Regions from separate parts of the Homo sapiens genome. Here region 1 is linked to region 2. Evidence: promoter capture Hi-C in 16 types of primary human blood cells and fetal thymus (Javierre and others, 2016). All regions are on one chromosome and are shown on one strand. Each heading gives the region's core, a stretch centred on a gene start or on the middle of the fragment in contact. The rest is flanking DNA. Distances are from core to core; before and after follow the strand shown.

Evidence for each region. The method cuts DNA at HindIII sites, captures the fragments that hold promoters and counts their contacts. A CHiCAGO score of 5 or more calls a contact.
Region 1: a fragment that was not itself captured here is called in contact with the fragment with the promoter of ZSCAN32 in region 2 in 5 of 17 cell types (erythroblasts, M1 macrophages, M2 macrophages and 2 more); the score reaches 8.0 in erythroblasts.

Annotation. Positions count from the first base shown.
Region 1 is chr16:3,319,645-3,325,878 of GRCh38, forward strand. It overlaps a transcript of ZNF75A not described here, a transcript of OR2C1 not described here and the pseudogene RPL7L1P19. Among named protein-coding and RNA genes, the nearest start is that of ZNF75A, 17 kb to the left of the region's middle. The HindIII fragment of the contact is 2,887 bases long and covers 131-3,017 here.
Region 2 is chr16:3,398,532-3,405,100 of GRCh38, forward strand. It overlaps ZSCAN32 (zinc finger and SCAN domain containing 32), which reads right to left and starts at 2,473. Exons shown (of 7, transcript NM_001284527.2): 1 at 2,414-2,473. ZNF174 (zinc finger protein 174) reads left to right here and starts at 2,684. Exons shown (of 3, transcript NM_003450.3): 1 at 2,684-3,875; 2 at 5,895-6,117. The coding sequence starts at 3,474. LOC105371059 (a long non-coding RNA gene) reads left to right here. Exons shown (of 4, transcript XR_007064949.1): 3 at 1-995; 4 at 1,100-1,138. RefSeq lists silencers at 2,111-2,260, 2,811-3,030 and an enhancer at 2,234-2,733. The HindIII fragment of the contact is 4,650 bases long and covers 1-3,514 here.

The DNA.
Region 1 (6,234 bases), core at 324-2,823, 80 kb before region 2:
GCATCCCCTCATGGAACTTGTATTCCAGTGAACAGTAAGAAGAATGGTTTTGCTTTCCTGCTCCTTGCTCTAAGACGGGTATGAGATAGTTTTGGTCAATGAGTTGTGAGCATTGTGAGCCTCTGGCTGAAGCTTTTCATTTTTTTTTTTTTATTTTTTTTTTTATTTTTTTGCTGGTACAAGGCCAGTGCTCTCCTTTCCTGCCTTAATCATGGAACCACATACAGAGAGAGCAGCCATGAAATCAAAGCAGTCCAGAACACTGAGCCACTGCATGGAGGGCGGCTATTCCCAAGAGTCTCCAGACCTATAGTGAACTTTGTGAGAACAAGAAATAAACATTTGTTCTGTTAAATCACTGAGACATTGGTGCTATGTGTTTCTGTAGCATAACCTGCCCTATCTTTTTTTTTTTTCTTGAGACGGAGTCTCGCTCTGTTGCCCAGGCTGGAGTGCAGTGGCGCAATGTCAGCTCACTGCAAGCTCCGCCTCCTGGGTTCATGCCATTCTCCTGCCTCAGCCTCCCAAGTTGCTGGGACTACAGGTACCCGCCACCACGCCTGGCTAATTTTTGTATTTTTAGTAGAGATGGGGTTTCACCTTGTTAGCCAGGATGGTCTTGGTCTCCTGACCTCGTGATCCACCCGCCTCGGCCTCCCAAAGTGCCGGGATTACAGGCGTGAGCCACCGCACCTGGCCAACCTGGCCTATCTTAATAGAGCTTGGAAAAGGGCAGCTGGGGGAGTGACTGTTTTGCTGGAGCTCTGGACCTTTCCATTTTCATTCTGCCTAGCCTTTGGCCCTCAAAAGAGACCTGGCTTCCCGTGGATACTAAACTGAGCTGATGCAACACTAATGGGACCACTTAAGACCTCCCAAGACTGTAGATGATAGGGAAGAAAGACATTGCTGTCTTGGACAAATCTTATGGGAGGTCAGTTCAAGGGGACAAGGCAACCCTCCTTCCCTATCTGGCCTTATTCCACTTCCCTTATTCTTTGTCTCCCTGCGCGTTGCCTCATGCACAAAACAGGCATTGCTATTGATGAATGGGCTATGGTGGGGGTTAGGGGGTAGGGATTGCCTTCCTCATATGCATGCAGGAGATTTCAAAGAATGGTTTGTTAACTACCTCTGTTGTATCTTCAGTGAGTTGTGCCTCAGAAAACAGATGAGATATAGGGCAAAAGCAAATTTGTCCAGATCAGTGTAGACAGTAAGGTGGCTATCTTCCTGGACTAAGGGATGACGGACAACTGGGGAGAAACTTGGGCAGGGAGGCAGGAGCAAGACAGTTCCACCTGTGGAGTGAGAATCCTCCAGGGGGAAAGTCGTAGCTTAGCCAGTACCCAGCTGCTGCACATAACATGATGTCTCATAACAACCTTGGAATTTGTGGGGTGGGGAGTGGAAGAAGGGATTTCTGTAGCTTGAGATGAGATTGGATTACTAAAATGATATCAGATGATATGAGAACAAATTACTTAAACCATGATATTAAAATCTATTGAGGCTTGCTTTAAAAATGAAATGAGAGACACATAATCCTAGGTTTAGCCTTAAACATTAGTACTAAATGCACTAATTAGTACTAAATGCACAAATATGTCCTCCATAAACCGGCAGATGATTTCCAGGAAACAAGAAGGATGCTTTATTTTAGCATGTTCAGATAGCAGCCTTACCGTGGCTTCACGGTTATTTCAGAGAACTGTATCATTGACCCCGTCTAGTCTCCTGACCTGTCCCCTGCACTAGTCTAAGTTCAGTGCTGGGACCATCCCAGACCTAGAGTTCTCCCTGCCGTTAAGCAGACTGGACCTTGAGCTCACCTTGAGAACCTCAGATATATTTTATTTTTGAGACAAGGGTCTCTGTTGCCCAGGCTGGGGCTCACCACAGCCTCGATCTCCCAGTCTCAAGCAATCCTCCCACCTCAGCCTTCTGAGTATCTGGGACTCCAGGCACGTGCCACCATGCCTGGGTTATTATTTTTTTACTTTTAGTAGAGATGAGGTCTTGCTATGTTGCCCAGGCTGATCTTGAACTCCTAAGCTCAAGTGATCCTCCTGCATTGGCCTCCCAAAGTACTGAGATTACAGGCATGAGCCACCATGCCCAACCTCAGATATCTTTTAACTGGAGGGGAAGAACAGGAGGGGCTTAGAATCAAAGTAAATCTCAAAACTAAAACTCCTAGGGTTTCTGTTAACTTTTGGAACTACTGAGAACAGTGTTTAATTTCCCAGGTAAGTTTGAGGAAGAACGCCCAGCAGCCTCTTTTATCCAAATGGACAATTGGTAACAAAAGATGGGAGTTCATAAAGGATTTTCCAAATATTTGTTGAGTCATGCCACTGAAGCATTTACTCCAGCATTTCCTGGTCACTCCTCCCTGTCATGTGTGATGAAGGCTGCCCTGTTACTCTTCTCTTGGAGGTTTTCTAGTGCATAAATACTTGCTGAAGCTCTCCCCACATTCTCTGTGGACTGAATTCTCTCCTATGTAGACTCTCTGAAGTCCCCTCAAGTGGGAAACAAAGTTTTGCCCATACTTCACGTTTCTACTGTTTGTCCCAGTAGAAATCCACCCAAACAAAAAGCATACTTTTGTTTCTGAATCTTTTCTACACCTGTCACTTTTTCTTGTGTGGGTTCACTGGGGACCGAGATGAGGGCACTGTTTGAAACATCAACCAAATTTGCTACATGCCTAGGTTTCCTTCATGTATTAATCCTCCACTGGGCAATGGTAGTTGGGCTGTACTGAAATGCCTTCTTCAGTCGAGCGTCTGTAAGGCTTTTCTCCTGTACGATTCACCCAAATCTGATAATGCGTGTACTTTGCCTAAAGCAGTTCGCCTAGTCTGAATCCCTCCTGTGAAAGGAATTAAGCAAGCTACCTTTTGCATTGCATTTCAGATTTAAGAAAACTATCTGAATCACTTTTCATTTCTGCCACAGTTCAGATAATGAATCTTGAGTTGCACCAATCTTAGCGCTGACATTAAAAATCAAGCTTTACAGTGTTTGGATATGATGCACCTTTTAGGAGAAACTAAGAAAGCTTACTGTTGAAATTTTTTTTTTTGACAAGTTAACATTTATTTTTGGGCCTTTCTTCCTATGTGTATTTCAAGTCTTTTTCAAAACAAGGACCCAGGAATCTCCAGATTCAATTATGTCCCTGGGCTTGGTCGACTGCTCCCGGAGTCTTAGGAAGCCTTGTACAAATGCTAGAGTTACTCATTCACCAACATTAAACCCTAGGATAGAAGATTCAACAAAGCAGGACTACTTCCGCCGACAAGGAGGCAGCCAATGTAGAAAATGCTGGAATTTTTCCTTGGAACTGGACTGTGATGAGAGGTACTTGCCATGAACCTAAGCTACTGTCTTTTTTTTTAACCCTTCCTTTCCAGTTTTTGAAGATAAAGCAGGAAATAGTCTTTGAAGATACTTGATAAAAAAAATCTCAAAAAAACAAAAACACATGCTTCCACTTCATTGATAAAAATTTACTGCAGTTTGGCACCTGGGTCTAGTTCAGCTGGCAGATGAGCTGATTGATGCATTCACCCCAATAGCCAGATGTGCCCATCTCCTTGAGGAAGCCCACTGTATTTTTGGTAGCATGATGGACCACTGAGAGGTGGAAAGGGCAAAAGAACCATGAGATCTCCTGGAAATGCTTCACTGGGAGGCAATTTCATGAATGAGGTCTTCCAAGCAAATGACACCAAACTTCCCCAGGTGCTCCTCAATCACTGTGTTGTCTGTCAGAGGGATGGTGTTCTTATTGACCTTGGCTTGTCCATGTTTCAGAATGAATTCCCGGACAGACTTCAGATTTGGAAATCCCCAGATCACATAAGGTTCCACTATACGCAGCATTTTTAGGTTCTGGGGGGTGACTTTTACAAAGACACCACTAAAAATTTTCTTAAGATGAAGTCTTGCAATGGCTGTCTGCACCAGTAGACTCACGCCAACAATCCTTTTGCTGCATACAACAAAGGCCAAGGAATGTTTATCTGGCAATTCCAAGGCACGAGGTTTCATTTCTAGTCATCTGAGACACACCTTGTCACATTTCTGCCACCAGGAATTATGTAGGAATGATTCCAGTCCCTTAAACCTGAGCCCTTTTCCTTTCCGCTGCTCCTTCTTTGCCAAAAGTGCCTGCTTTGTCTGAGTGGCTTTGAGGACTTGATAAGCCTTCCTCTTTTTCAGGAGATTTTCTGGAACCAAAGGGATTTTTCTTTGCTTTTGCTCTGCCATCTTTCTAGTGTTGTAGCTGCTGATCCTTACTGTTGAATTTTTAAAACCAATAGGTATACTTCCAACATAATTTTCACACTAAGCATTTGCCCATGATTTGTACAATCAACTGAATGATTTCAAAGCATTTGAAACAATCAAAAAGTAAAAGATCTTTACTGTTCACAAAGACAAAATTAAATATTTGTAGCATTAGAAAAATTCCTAAAATATTTAGTAGCATAGGGAACAACAGCTTGTTACACAGAAGAGTTAGGAAAAAAAATTTTTTATTTTATTTTTTGGAGACAGAGCCTCACTCTATCCCCCAGGCTGGAGTGCAGTTGCCCGGTCTCGGCTCACTGCAACCTCCTCCCCAGTTCAAGCAATTCTCGGGCCTCATGCTTCCCAAGTAGCTGGCACCACAGGTGTGCACCACCACACCTGGCTAATTTTTTGTGTTTTAATAGAGATAGGGTTTCAACGTGTTTCCCAGGCTGGTCTCGAACTCCTGAGCTCAGGCAATTCACCTGCATAGCAGAGTTAATAGATGGGCAAAGGCCATTGAGTTGAAGAAAGCACATTATGATGCATCAGCCTCATGTTCTGGGACCAAATCAAAGTACTCACTCTACTGAATTGACCAAGCAACCATGAGAAAAATATCTAACTAAACTGCTCAGTGTTGTAATGGATTTCTCTCTACGTATGTTTGTTTTATAAATATGTTAGAGATGGGAGTCTTGATATGTTGCCCAGGCTGGCCTCGAACTCCTGGACTCAAGTGATCCTCCTGCCTAAACCTCCCCAAATCTGGGACTGCAGGTGCATGCCATCACACCTAGCTCCTACACACACACACACGTATATATATGTACATACATACATATACATACTTACATATACATATATATGCTTACCTCAAATATATTGCAGGTTTGGTTCCAGGCCCATGCAATAACATGAATATCAGAATGAAGTGAGTCACACAAATTTTTTGGTTTTCCAGTACATATAAAAAAGTTATATTTACACTGTACTGTAGTCTTTTTTATTTTTCAGTTTTGTATTGTATTGTATTGTGTTTTATGTTTTGAGACAGAGCCTCACTCTGTCACCCAGACTGGAGTGCAATGGCATGATCTCAGTTCCCTGCAACCTCTGCCTCCCAGGTTCAAGTGGTTCTTTTGTCTCAGCCTCTGAAGTAGCTGGGATTACAGGCACCTGCCACCAGGCCCAGCTAATTTTTTTATTTTTAGTAGAGATGGGGTTTCACCATGTTGGCCAGGCTGGTCTTGAACTCCTGGCCTCAACCGATTAGCCACCCTCAGCCTCCCAATGTGCTGGGATTACAGGCCTGAGCCACTGTGCCCAGCCTATTTACTTATTTTTTAATAGAGATAGGGGTCTTACTATGTCGCCCAGGCTGGTCTCAAACTCGTGGGCTTAAGTGATCCTCCTGCCTTGGCTTCCCAAAGTGCTGGGATTACAAGTATGAGCCATCACACCTGGCCTGTAGTATAGTCTTTAAGGGTGTAATTGCATTATGTCTAAAAATATATATATATATATATATATATATATATATATATATATATATACACTTTAAAAATACTGGCATGGAGATATGAAGTGAGTGTGTGCTGTTGGAAAAATGGCAGCGATAGACTTGCTCATCACAGGCTTGCCACAAACCTTCAATTCATAAAAAATACAATATCTGTGAAGTGTCACAAAGTAAGGCACAATAAGGTATGCCTGTATATTAATACATATGTGAATAAACTCTATGGATACCTATATCTCATATAGGTAGATATCTTAAGTGTATATATTTTTAAATATTAAGATGTTTTTCACTATGTTTTTGCTTTGTTGGTGTAAAAGGGAAAAAATGTAAAAATATAAAATATTTCTCAAATTGCCATGCTAAATGAGGCATGTAGGTGCCTGATGTGAGTATTAGTGATGGAG
Region 2 (6,569 bases), core at 1,223-3,722:
ACAAACTGGCTTTATCTAGGCAGTGGGCAAGATGAACCCACTGGGCAGTTACAGTACCAAAAAATATAGTCTTCTCCCAGCCAAGATTCTGTGTCTGCTGACGAATTACTCAAACTGTTCCTGACGATATAGTTCACCTGTTCCTTCCCTTCTTCCCTCACACACCTAGGTCTTTTTCCTGTCCTTCCCTATCCTCAAGAAGCCTGAATTCATGTTCCCAATTGCTACCCTCTCCTCGGGGGAGAACTGGTGTGTGTGTGCTTCTTGATTAACTTCTTCATTACTATTACTCCACACACACACAACGTGGATAAGTGACTGTTCGGGTTTGCTGTATGTTTTTATTTTCCAGCATTCCTTTCCCACTTCTAGTAGCAGCATCTTCTTCCTTTGTGAAAAAGTCCCCCTCGACCAGGCGTGGTGGCTCACGCTTGCAATCCCAGCACTTTGAGAGGCCAAGGCGGGCGGATCACGTGGTCAGGAGATCTAGACCATCCTGGCTAACAAGATGAAACTCCGTCTCTACTAAAAATACAAAAAAATTAGCTGGGCATGGTGGCACGCACCTGTAGTCGCAGCTACTCGGGAGGCTGAGGCAGGAGAATCGCTTGAACCCGGGAGGCGGAGGTTGCAGTGAGCTGTGATCACGCCATTGCACTCCAGCCTGGGCAACAAGAGCGAGACTGTCTCAAAAAAAGAAAAAGTCCCTCTCATTGGTTCTGGTGGGGATATTAATTACAATACCCACTTCCCCAGAAGTGGGCATATGACACACAGCTAGGCCTATCAAAATTCTTTTCTCAGATTTTACATGAGAGGTAGGGAAAGCTCTTCATTTTCTAGGAATTGGTAAATTGGGCAAATGTAAGATCAGAGTTGTCTCCAACTATGTCCCACTCTCTACTCCACTCTTCCATCACAGGAGTGAGCCTGTTTACAAGAGGACAATATACTCAAGTCTTGACAACATGTTTGGATCTCCAAGGCCAGTTTATGTAAGGCAATATTTTTTTAAGAGTTAATTTTAAAAATAGTTTTATATAATTTAAAATTAATAAATAACTTTTAAAAATAATTTTATTTGTTTTTTTATCTTTAGAGATGGAGTCTCACTCTGTTGCCCAGGCTGGTCTCAAACTCCTGAACTCAAGCAATCCTCCCACCTCAACCTCCCAAAGTGTTAGGATTACAAGTATAAGCCACCATGCCCGACCTTAAAAATAATTTTAAATAGAAGCTAACTTTTGTATTTTTTGTAGAGGTGGAGTTTCACTATGTTGCCCAGGCTGGTCTCAAACTCCTGTGCTCAAGTGATCCTCCCACCTTGGCCTCCCAAAGTGCTGGGATTACAGGTGTGAGCCACTGCACCCGCGAAGGCAGTCTTTTTTAATGAGTTTGTGTTGGTTTTTATCTACTTAAAACACAGATTAAAGCAGATCGTAATTTACATTTTCTCCAGGGGCTGATACACCCTCACCATGTGGTATTAAAATGGATCCAGCATGCACAACAAGATGAATATACTCAGGACTACTGAGCTGTACACTTAAAAATGGTTATGATGGTAAATGTTTTTTAAAAATTAAAGAAATTTTTTTATATTTTAAAAATGGATTTGGGTTCCCTTTTCTCAAGGAACTTGAACTGCCTTCACTTAAATTCTCTTTACATTTCAGTGCTTCTAGAGATAGAGAAATCAAGGGCATTATTATTGTTAGCACTGCTTTCTAGCCAAAAAGAAACTGAGAGCGATGAAGTATCTTGCCTAAAGCATCACACAGCACAGCTCCTAGGCAGCAAGGCCAGGACTAGAACCAGCACCCCTTGCCTTCATTATGTTCATCCTGTGCCTTACCTGGCTGAAGAAGAATTTAATAAAAGCTCTTCTAACTTCATGCAGAAGGCGGAACCTGCACCCTTCTTGACCCCTTTTGACCCCTTACCTCCCACTCATCGTTAAATTTTAAAATGCTGTTCTCTGAAAATTTTACTTCACTCTAGCGATGGCCCAAACACTCGGAAAAAAATGTAGCATGAGGATGGGGAGCCAGGTTGATAGGTTTTTCACTTAGTTAACTATTTATTGAGTACTCAGAACGCACTCGGTGCCAGGGCTAGGCACTGTGGATGAGTAGGGAGTGGGCGAGACAGGGACGAGATGAGCAGGGTCAAGGCCAGGGGGTCCCGGGGCGCCGGCGCTCAGGCTCGGGGTGATCCGCACGGTGGGAGCGGGGCACGGTGATCGCGGCGCGTCTGGGGACGCCCGGCCTGAGGGAGGCTGCCTGTCCCAAGGAGACGCCCATCGGGGCCGGACCCGAACGCCTCGGAGAAGACTCCCAGCGGGGAGGGGCTCCTCGGCCGTCGCAGGGCCCAGCGGCTAATCCCGCCGGCCGCAAGGAAGCGGAGAACTCACCGGACACCAGCACTCGCGACTCCACAAACTCCCTCAGCCTCCGGGCCGGAAGTCAGCGGCGCGATTCGCTCCGCCCATTACGCACGCCCCTGCGCAGGCCCGCAAGCCGAATTGCCGGACTGCAGCTCCCGGGATGCACTGCGACGGTATTGACAGGCGCAGCAACCAATAGACGGTAGAGAATGCCCTTGGCAGGAGGCGGGCCCTGTCAGTAGTTGTCCTCAGCAGCTAGTGGGCGTCTCCGCAGCGAGTGGCATCGGCCCCGCCCCCAGCCCGTGCTCGCCGGTGTCGGGTCCTAAGTCCCTCGGTCTTGGGTTCCCGGAGAGGTGAGTCGGCTGCAGGTGGGTGCGGGGCGCCGGGCTGTTCGGGGTACCGGTGTCGCAGTCGCCAGTCCGAGCTCACACCGGGCGTGGAGTTCAGCTGCGCATCGGGTTGCGGCAGCTTCGCCAGGCCTGGGGCTGGCTGGGCCGCGGGGCCGCCCTGGAGGCCGGAGCCACTGGGCCTGCGGCGCCTCGGCAGCGAGCAGCCGCTTTGCTCGCGTGCAGGAGGCTGTTCGCTACCTCACACCCCCGGCTGGCGCTGTGGCCTCGCTTAGCTCTACCGTTTAGCACCCGGCGACATGCACCCGGTCGGTTTCCGCCAGGATGCGGGAGAGTTGGGGCAAGCTACCTGCGACAGCTTGAACTTTTCCTAGGGATTCCGCTCCACCCGCCGGTTAGAGCGTATTGCTCATTAAATCCGAGACCTGTGTGCTTGCTACTGAAATAAAAGAAGTATTTTTTCCCCAGAGTCCTTTTAGGACGTTATGACTTTTCTCCTTTGCAAGACTGCAAAAAACTGACAAGAAGACAAAACTCTTCCCACTCCCAGGGACCGCGTTGTCTTGAGTTTGGCTAGTAAAGGCTAGCAAGTGAGGCTTTGTCTCTGCATCCCGTTCCCCCTAACATCCTCAGAGAACCTTCGTTTCTAGAATCTTTCTAGTATTCAGAGACTTCTCCAGGGTCATGATCCCAAAGGCTTAACCCGTTTACAAGGAGAGAGTTGTCTCCTGACGCCCAAAATGGCAGCTAAAATGGAGATAACTTTAAGCTCCAACACTGAAGCTTCCTCCAAGCAAGAGAGACACATAATAGCCAAACTAGAAGAGAAACGGGGCCCTCCTCTGCAAAAAAACTGCCCAGATCCTGAGCTCTGCCGCCAGAGCTTCAGACGCTTTTGTTATCAAGAGGTGTCTGGACCCCAAGAGGCTCTCTCCCAGCTCCGACAGCTCTGCCGTCAGTGGTTGCAACCCGAGCTGCACACCAAGGAGCAGATTTTGGAGCTTCTGGTGATGGAGCAGTTCCTGACCATCCTGCCCCCGGAGATCCAGGCTCGGGTCAGGCATCGATGTCCAATGAGCAGCAAGGAGATTGTGACCCTCGTGGAAGATTTTCACAGAGCATCCAAGAAACCAAAGCAGTGGGTAAGGAGGGTCCTCTCCCATCATCCTGGGGATTTCTTTTTCTTTTCTTTTTTTTTTTTTTTCTTTTTTTGAGACGGAATCTTGCTCTTTCGCCCAGGCCCGAGTGCAGTGGCGCTATCTCGGCTCACTGCAAGCTCCGCCTCCCGGGTTCACGCCATTCTCCTGCCTCAGCCTCCCGAGTAGCTGGGACTACAGGCGCCCGCCACCGCGCCCGGCTAATTTTTTGTATTTTTAGTAGAGACAGGGTTTCACCGTGTTAGCCAGGATGGTCTCGATCTCCTGACCTCGTGATCCGCCCGCCTCGGCCTCCCAAAGTGCTGGGACTACAGGTGTGAGCCACCGTGCCCGGCCGATTTCTTTTTCATCTGGGTAATGTTTGGTATCTGGATCTCTCCCTATTTAAGTCTCAGAAGTGGACTGGATGGCTTCAGAAGTTGCTTCCAGCCTCTATCTGGGAACCTATCCTGAGTTATTAACAGGTTTTTAGAAAATCCAACTACTGATACCCAGTGAGGCAACAGAGGACCAAGGTTCTTACCATTCCTTTATGCACCTTGTGTCACCAGAAGTAATTGTAAGGTTCTTAAATCCCTTCTGTCAGCTCTTCCCCCACCCAACTTAGTTTTCCTACTAGCAGAATTCTTAGCAGATAGGGTCACCCTGTTGGGTAGCAGTTGGACTTTGGGGAACTTCATTTCATTGGAAGTTCTAGCTTATTGTCTTTCCAGTGTTTAGCTTATAGTCTTTTTTTTTTTTTTTTTTTTTTTTTTTTTTTTTTTTTGAGATGGAGTCTTGCTGTGTTTCCCAAGCTGGAGTGCAGTGGTGCCATTTCAGCCCACTGCAACCTCTGCACCCCAGGTTCAAGCGATTCTCAGGTCTCAGCCTCCTGAGTAGCTGGGTTTACAGGTGCCTGCCACCACGCCCAGCTAATTTTTGTACTTTTTAGTAGAGAGGGGGTTTCACTATGTTGGCCAGGCTAGTCTCGAACTCCTGACCTCAAGTGATCCTCCCGCCTTGGCCTCTCAAAGTGCTGGGATTACAGGCGTGAGCCACCACACCTGGCCTAGCTTTTTGTCTTTGATTTTTTTTTTTTTTTTTGAGACTGGGTCTCACTGTGTTGCTGAGGCTGGAGGGCAGTGGCACGATCTCAGCTCGCTGCAACCTCCATGTCCAGCTCAAGTGTTCCTCACACCTCAGCCTCTCAAGTAGCTGGGACTGCAGGTACATGCCACCATGCGTGGCTAATTTTTGTACTTTTGTAGAGACAGGGTTTCTCCACATTGCCCAGGCTGGTCTTGAACTCTTCTTGGGCCCAGGCGATCCGCCCGTCTTGACCTCCCAAAGTGCTGGGATTACAGGAGTGAGCCACACAATGCCTGACTAGCTTATTGTCTTTGGATCAGGAAGTTACAGTTCAACTGGCCAGCGTTGCCATTGCTTGCCACTCCCCGCCCCGAAGTCAGACCCCAGTCAGGACCTAGGCAAGAAGCAAACGGCAGGTACTTCGGAAAATAGAACTTGTTAGGGAATGAAGGTGGGGTGGTCCTCTTAGACCCCTACTACTACTGGGATCTCCTTACCAGGAAAGCCTTTGGCAGAACAATGTATTAGGTAAGAAGGACTTTTAACAGCCCCTCACCATACTGCTTCCTGTTCCTACAGGGCCTATTTCCAGCAGAAGTAGGTGGGGGGTGGTGTGTAGAGTAGGCATCTGATGGCCCAGTGTTGTGACTGACCCTGATATTTGTGCCAGCAACTACCCTGATGACTTTGACTCTGGCCCTTGAGAAAGGCCCAAGCTTTAGGGGAAGCCACTCGGCTGATTTGTAGCATCCTCATTCCTGTCATTCTTCACGTTCTCCCCTTTACTTCCTTTGAGGGTTTCAGTGGTTTCTATGAAAGTTGACCTCTAGATGGTTATCAGCAATTCCCAAGGTAAACGGGTCATTATACAACAGTGAGAGATCAAGCTTCCCTCAGTCCTGATGGATGGAATTAATGGATGGGGCTTGTTCCTAGGTGGCCGTTTGTATGCAGGGGCAAAAGGTGCTCTTGGAGAAAACTGGATCTCAGCTTGGAGAACAGGAACTGCCAGACTTTCAACCGCAGACTCCTAGGAGAGATCTCAGGGAGAGCTCTCCAGCAGAGCCTTCCCAGGCAGGAGCTTATGACCGGCTGAGCCCCCATCATTGGGAGAAATCCCCACTCCTCCAAGAACCAACCCCCAAATTGGCTGGGACAGGTAAACACTCTGCCTTTTCTCTCCCTCTCATCAGCCCTTTATCTCCATCAATGTATCTCATGGTTCTGCAAAGGCATAGACCACATGTGTGTGTTTTTTTAAATGTTATATATAATAGTAGATGATTATTCACTAAACAAATTTCACTAATTAGGATGGTGGTGATACTACAAGTAAGTATGTTTTTATCGTTTTCTGTTAATGAAAATTTAAGAATCCAGTGCATGACAGGGTTGTACCTACTTTTCTGTCCGTTTCAGAACTTCTTATAGAAAAGACAGATCCAAATATGGCCACAGATGAACTTCCATGCAAGCTATGGCTGAGTTTCATTGCTTAAAATGCTCCTCTGTTTAGAGGGGCCTGGTAGAAATAAAAACCCACCCTATATCTTATATCTTTGTCCTCCTCTGTGATGTTGCTTGTACTTTAGATCCTCAAATCTATTTCCC